2 separate regions of the Homo sapiens genome follow, and region 2 is linked to region 1. The links are contacts of gene promoters, found by promoter capture Hi-C in blood cells and fetal thymus (Javierre and others, 2016). All regions are on one chromosome and are shown on one strand. Each heading gives the region's core, a stretch centred on a gene start or on the middle of the fragment in contact. The rest is flanking DNA. Distances are from core to core; before and after follow the strand shown.

Region 1 (3,160 bases), core at 661-3,160:
GAGCGGTGAATACTTTCCTGAGGCAGCAAACACTATTGAAAATTCCAAGCTCAGCAAAGTATGCTCCATATTTTGATCAATAAAAGCCATGTGGTTTAAGAAAAACAGAGCCCACAAATACTGCTGCATATTTTTGTCTATTTTAAAAAGTTTTCCTCATGCCGCCCTAAGAATATTTTTGTCTATTAAAAAACAAAATCTATGCCTTGGTTAGCGTTGATTTTATGTAGTCATAATCAGTCAGAGCTTTATTAAAATACTAACGACCCACAGCTTTATCTTAGACCTTTCTAAAACAATTCTTCACCATATTCATCTTTGCAAGGATTCATTCTTTGGTACAAAAGCAGTGAGAAACACAGCTCTGGCAGACACTCTGCAGGGATGCGGGCAGGTTCATCGTCTGGCCCCTGCTTTCACCTGGCAGACACTGGACACACTGCTGAGAAACCAGCTCATCTCAGTATGTCTCTATTCTACCAAAAAGAGACGAGGCTCTGCTCCAATTCTGACACCTCATTCCGAAATCACCAAAATCTCCATCGGGTCCTAAGCAGACAGAATGTCGCAGCCATTCATCCTCAGAAGTCTTGAGAATAAAATTAAAAGTAATTAATTAAAATAAAACTACTTGCAATTAAAAGTAAACACCGGCTAGGTCATGCAATTCATACTGGCCGGTGCTCACATAACTGAACTACCTTGTGATTCTCTGCTTTGCTGTCAAAATCCTCCTCCACCTCCAATGCTGATACCACAATCCAGAGGCTAGAGACATTTAAGTGAAGGGATGATTCTAATAACAAACATACTTCTATACGTTTCCAATACCTCTGCCCTGTCCCAGAGCTGGTCCCACTCCAAAACCCAGGCTTGCCACTACGCTAGCAAAGGGGCAATCCGAGTAACTCTGATACTCAGATTCCCAAACATTTCTGTTACTTTCCACCACCACCACCCCCCCCACCCCCCGGCTTCTGACAGCCTCTGCAAAAGCACCAGCACTGCAAATGCCTGTTTGGCTTCCATCCTTCAGCAGGCAATGGAAGCTTTTCCAGGAGAAACCTAATTCTAACCTTTCCAGAGGCCAGGAGACGGCAGCGCAGGGATAGCACCTGGCGCAAGTGCCTGTTTGGATGCCGAGGTCGCCTCCCTCGCGGCCCTCGGACCCCGCGAGGCAGGTAGGCTTTGGGCCGGGCCGGCCGGGTCCGTGCGGGGCGCCGACCTCGCCTACGACGCCGCAGCCCCGCTCCCCAGGAGCCTCGGTCCCTGCGGGCACGCGTCCCCGTCACGGGGCCGATTACAATGGAGGCCGCTCCCGTCCTCCCGTGGAGGGGCTCGGTGCCCTCGGTGACCCTGCTAGACCCGGCAGGACGCCCCTTGGGCTAATTCGCCCGGGGCGGGGGAGACCTCGGCCTTCTCGAAGACCTCCCGCGCTCGAAGACCGTTTCGGAGCGTCCGCAACCACTGAGTCCCCGAAGACCCGCGGGGCCCCCTCAGGCCGTCCCGACCCAGACCCCTGCCCCTGCCCCTCTCCCTCCTCGCGGCTGCGGCGCCCGCCCGCCCTCACCGGACTTGGGCGGGTAGCGGTACACGGAATTAGACGGGATGTCCACCTCCTCCACGCCCGCGTGCTGCCGGCTCGTCAGGGCCCCCATGGCCGCTGCGGCTGCAGCCCCGGCCCGGCCCCGGTGCCCGCGCCGCCCTCCGCGCTTCACCGCGGCCGCCCGCCCCGCGCCCGGTGCGGGGGCCGACTGCCCGCCGCGGCCGGCTCCGCTGCGGCGCTGCGGCTCTGGCGGCGGGGAGCCCCCGGCGCGCCGCGCACCATCCTCCGCCGGGCACCGCGGCGGCGCCTCTGCCAAGGGGGCTGCGGGTCTGGGCCGGGGGCGCCGCCGCCGCCTCAGGCCGCGTGATGTCAGCGGCCGCTCCGCGCGGGGACCGCGGCGGCCCCAGCCAATGGCGAGGCGGGGCGGGAGCGCCCGCGCCGGAGCAGCCAATGAGCGCGGGACTGCAGCAGGAGCCGGCGGCGCGTGCCTCGCGCGGGGAGCCGCGGCTGGACTCGGCGCGCGTGGACGCGGCCCAGGGCCTCGCGGCGGGGGCGTGGGCGTGGGCGGGGACTCGCGACGGGGACGGGGGCGCGGCCGGGTGCCCGCGGCGGGGCGGGGCGGGACCGGCCGGAGCTGGGACCCCAGGAGACGAGCGCTGCACCCGGCCGGGACGCGTCGCCCCTCCGCGCCTGTTTATCCCGGCTCGGATTACCGCGCAGGGAGCCGCCCCCTCCCGCGGTCCGCGAGGACTGGCCGGGAGCTCGCTCGCCATTGTCCTGGGCGTCCCAAAGCGGGCGGTCCCCGCTCCGCTGCTCCCGCGCCTGGAGGAAGCCTTCCCAACCCCGCCCCTCAGCGTCGGCCGGCGGAGGTCTTCGGAAATCTCATGCAGGGGGGTAGGGAGAGGGGTCCCACGGTGCATTCGCATGTCTCCTGCCCCGTGTTAATGCTGGTGACCGGCTAGGAAGATGCCGCCTCCCTCTCACGTGCGTCTATTCAAAGCGCTCCCAACTCTATACATGCTGTTTAAGGCTCCTTGTAGCCCTAAAGTTAGGAGAACATCGACTGAGGATAAGATCAAGACATCCAGCCTCTGTCTGTATCGTGGAAACGGGACCCCGGAAACTTTGGAAAGGCCTGAGTGCCAAGAGAGTCAACGCAGGCGAAAGCGAACCGGGCCAGGCAGAACCGGGAGCTCCTGTTGATAAAAACACACACAACAGTGGGAAGCTTGGGCCGGCGGAAGACGTCATTCCATTGCTTAATTACAGACATTTGTGTTTTAAACCTTCTATTTTCTTTGTGGGTCTGGTGTTTTTTTTCCTGAGAGAGTGGACTGATCAGCAAACATTTCAACTGCTAGAACATGACTTTCACAACTTTTCAACAGTGTTCGAAGTACAGTTTGGGGTGTCTGGTTCCCTTGATTAGGTTTGTAAAGCTATTTTACGGAGTCTAGGTCTTTCCTGGTTATATTTTGTTTTTGTTTTTCTGTGTTTTGAGACGGAGTCTCCCTCTGTCGCCCAGGCTGGAGTGCAGTGGCGTGATCTCAGCTCACTGCAACCTCCGCCTCCTGGGTTCAAGGGATTCTCCTGCCTCAGCCTCCCGAGTAGCTG
Region 2 (3,160 bases), core at 419-2,918, 310 kb before region 1:
AGCAGAAGACAAGGTCATGGGCCTGAGTCTCTCCTGGCCAAAGTCCTCCTCCCATATCATGGACTGGGGCCCCTGGGATGGGGTGCACTTCTTCCTGGGAAGCTGGGGGCTCATGGCCATGGGCACAGCCAAGGGAGGAGTCTCCAGTTCTGCCATGGGCTTCTGGCAGGGAAACGAGGTAGGAGCTACCTCTGCTTCCTCATCATGAGTCACTCCAGAGACATGGGTTCAGGAGAGGCACAGGCTGCCATAGAGTTCTCCATTTTAACTCACACAGCTTCTCCAGGAGCTGCCCATGTTGGACCCAGAGGGCCTGGAACAGCTCGAGGAAGGGAGGAAACTCAAGCTGTCCCCTTACCCCACCACACACACTCAAACACACACACGCACAAATGCTCCTTGGCCTCTCCATCCTGTGCAGAGAAAACCCAAGGACATGAACGCTTCCTACTAGCATCTTCCACGTCCTCAAAGTCTCCCTAGCAGATGCGAGGAGCCGTCTCCCATGCACCTTTCTCACTGGCTACTGACCCACCTGCAGGCTTGGGGTGGTTGGGCAGCTCTCCTTTCCCAGGGTCCTTTGCAGCTTTTTTGCTAGGGGCTGAATTAGATTTCTTCAGACCTAAGATATCAGCATCCATGCCGTCCAGGTCCTAGAAAACCAGGGAGGGAGGGCAGAGGACTATGTCTGATAAGGGGCTGAGGACTTCCACCTGAGAGAGATGGGCTGTTGGCACCCCAGGTGTAGAATTGTGAGAAAACAAAGGAAAATGAGAAAACTGTTGAGAAAAACAGTGAGTGAAGAAAGAAAATGGAACTAAAGGTAAGCAGGGGGAGGTGGAATGGAGTCCAGCTCATGGTTCTGGGATGAGAGACTCAAAGTCAGCACCAAAAATTGAGTCAGAGGACTTGTGGGTTATGCCCAGGGATCCTAGGTGGCTGGTCTCGGGAAAAAAGCTTTCTTTTTTTTCTTTTTTTAGACAGGATATTGGCCGGGCGCGGTGGCTCATGCCTAGAATCCCAGCACTTTGGGCCGAGGCAGGTGGATCACCAGGTCAAGAAATCGAGACCATCCTGGCCAACATGATGAAACCCTGTCTCTACAAAAAATACAAAAATTAGTTGGGTGTGGTGGTGCACGCCTGTAATCCCAGCTACTTGGGAGGCTGAGGTAGGAGAATCGCTTGAACCTGGGAGGTGGAGGTTGCAGTGAGCCGAGATCATGCCACTGCACTCCAGCCTAGGCAACAGAGCAAGACTCCGTCTCAAAAAAATAAAAATAAATTAAAAATAAAATAAAATAAAGACAGAGTCTCACTCTGTCACCCAGGCTGGAGTGAAGTGGTGCGATCATAGCTCATTGCAGCCTCCAACTTCTGAGCTCAAGTGATCCACCTGCCATGGCCTCCCAAAGTGCTGGCATTACAGGAGTAAGCCACCATGCCAGACTTTTTTTTTTTTTTTGAAGACAGAGTCTCACTCTGTCACCACCCAGGCTGTAGTGCAGTGGTGTGATCATAGCTCATTGCAGCCTCCAACTCCTAGGCTCAAGCGAGCCTACTGCCTCGGCCTCCCAAAGTTCTGGGATTACAGGTGCCTGGCCTTTGAGGAGAAAGATTTCAAGATGAGATTAAAGAAGCTGAATCTGGACCGGGTGTGGTGCCTCATGCCTGTAATTACAGTATTTTGGGAGGCCAAGGTAAGAGAATCGCTTAAGGCCAGGAGTTTAAGGTTGCAATGAGATCACACCACTGCACTCCAGCCTGGGTGATAGAATGCGATGGTGTCTCTAAAAAAAAACCCAAAAAACAAAAATACACAACAAAAACAAGAGCCCCACAGGGCTGTAACCAAAAACGCGGCTTTGTCCTAGGGACTGTGGCAAAATGGGTTAACTAAAAGGGACACAAAACCCCAAGGGTCAGACAGGAAGGTGCTGCTGGCTGGAAGGAGAGGGAGAACAAGGTGTCTTAGGCCAAGCTAGAGATTATGTCCTTACAAATTATTCAGAATCTGTGCCTTAAAAATCCATTGCAAAGATTGGCGCTGGGCTTGATCTGATGAGAAGACAGCAGTATTGAAGGGGGCTTGGCAGGGGATGTGGAGAGAAATATGGAGAAAGATTAAGAACAAGCATTAGAGGAAAGAGTCTCCCCCTCTGTCTTCTAGGTGGAGGTGAGGGGACCCAGCTAGGTGGGCCTCCGAGTAGAGCTGGCCCCGTTTCCCCAGAGGCCTGTGGCACTCTCCACTCTCTATATACCAGGAACACTGGTTGATACTCAGAAAGGCAAGGAGGCCAACGGCTCACAGACGAGTTCCATGCTTGCACGAGGAAGGGCTCAGAAACACAGGTTGTAAAGGGAGAAATTAGAAGGAGAATGAAGCTTTGGTACAAAATATCATGACCCCACCCCACCCACCCCCAGTTCTAAGAATCGTGCAAGCTGTTTCCTTACCTTCATGGCCTGGAGCAGAGCCTGTGGGTCTGCCTCTGAGATACCTGAAACCTAAGTCCACAATGAGGGTGAGGACACAGATGAGGAGGCACATTAGTCAAGGCCCAATAAAACTCAGGGTCCTGGCCCCTTGCTTCTGTTAGGGCAGACGGCGCGGCAGGAGCAGAGCTTGGCCAATGGAGCTTACACAGGAGGGTGGCTTTGTTCCCCTTGCTTGGGCTTGGCAGTTGTTTGAAGCCAAACCTGCCTGGTTTTAGAGACTCAGAGAGCACTGCCATTCCTACTCCTTCCAACCATAGAGAACTCTTCCATCCAGGACTGAAATTCTGCTACTTCCCACCCATGCCAATGGACAGCTATGGAGTTTATAAGGGGAAAGGAGCAACATCTAAGACTCTAGCAGTTTCAGGGAGCTCTCCTTTCCACTCATCTTACTACAGGAAAGAGGATTCTGCTTTGGGTCCACTCGGCAGCCCTTGGGCATTATTTACAGTGGCTCACGCCTGTAATCCCAGCACTTTGGGAGGCCGAGGCGGGTAGATCACTTGAGGTCAGGAGTTTGAGGCCAGCCTGGCCAATGTGGTGAAACCCCGTCTCTACTAAAAATACAAAATTACCTACTAAAAATACAAAAATTATTTTCTTTGGCTGGGCACGGTGGGTCAGCCTGTAATCACAGTACTTTGAGAGGCCGATGTGGGTGG

The links. Contacts are between HindIII fragments. The CHiCAGO score rates a contact against its expected background, and 5 or more counts as called.
Region 2: a fragment that was not itself captured here is called in contact with the fragment with the promoter of RNF157 in region 1 in 1 of 17 cell types (endothelial precursors); the score reaches 5.0 in endothelial precursors.

What each region holds. Positions count from the first base shown.
Region 1 is chr17:76,238,583-76,241,742 of GRCh38, forward strand. It overlaps RNF157 (ring finger protein 157), which reads right to left and starts at 1,911. Exons shown (of 19, transcript NM_052916.3): 1 at 1,571-1,911. The coding sequence starts at 1,658. LOC105371896 (a long non-coding RNA gene) reads right to left here. Exons shown (of 6, transcript XR_007065913.1): 6 at 2,280-3,160. RefSeq lists an enhancer at 879-1,551 and silencers at 1,856-1,995, 2,016-2,085. The HindIII fragment of the contact is 1,725 bases long and covers 1,048-2,772 here.
Region 2 is chr17:75,927,541-75,930,700 of GRCh38, forward strand. It overlaps FBF1 (Fas binding factor 1), which reads right to left. Exons shown (of 30, transcript NM_001319193.2): 7 at 2,457-2,507; 8 at 536-653. Among named protein-coding and RNA genes, the nearest start is that of FBF1, 12 kb to the right of the region's middle. The HindIII fragment of the contact is 1,427 bases long and covers 956-2,382 here.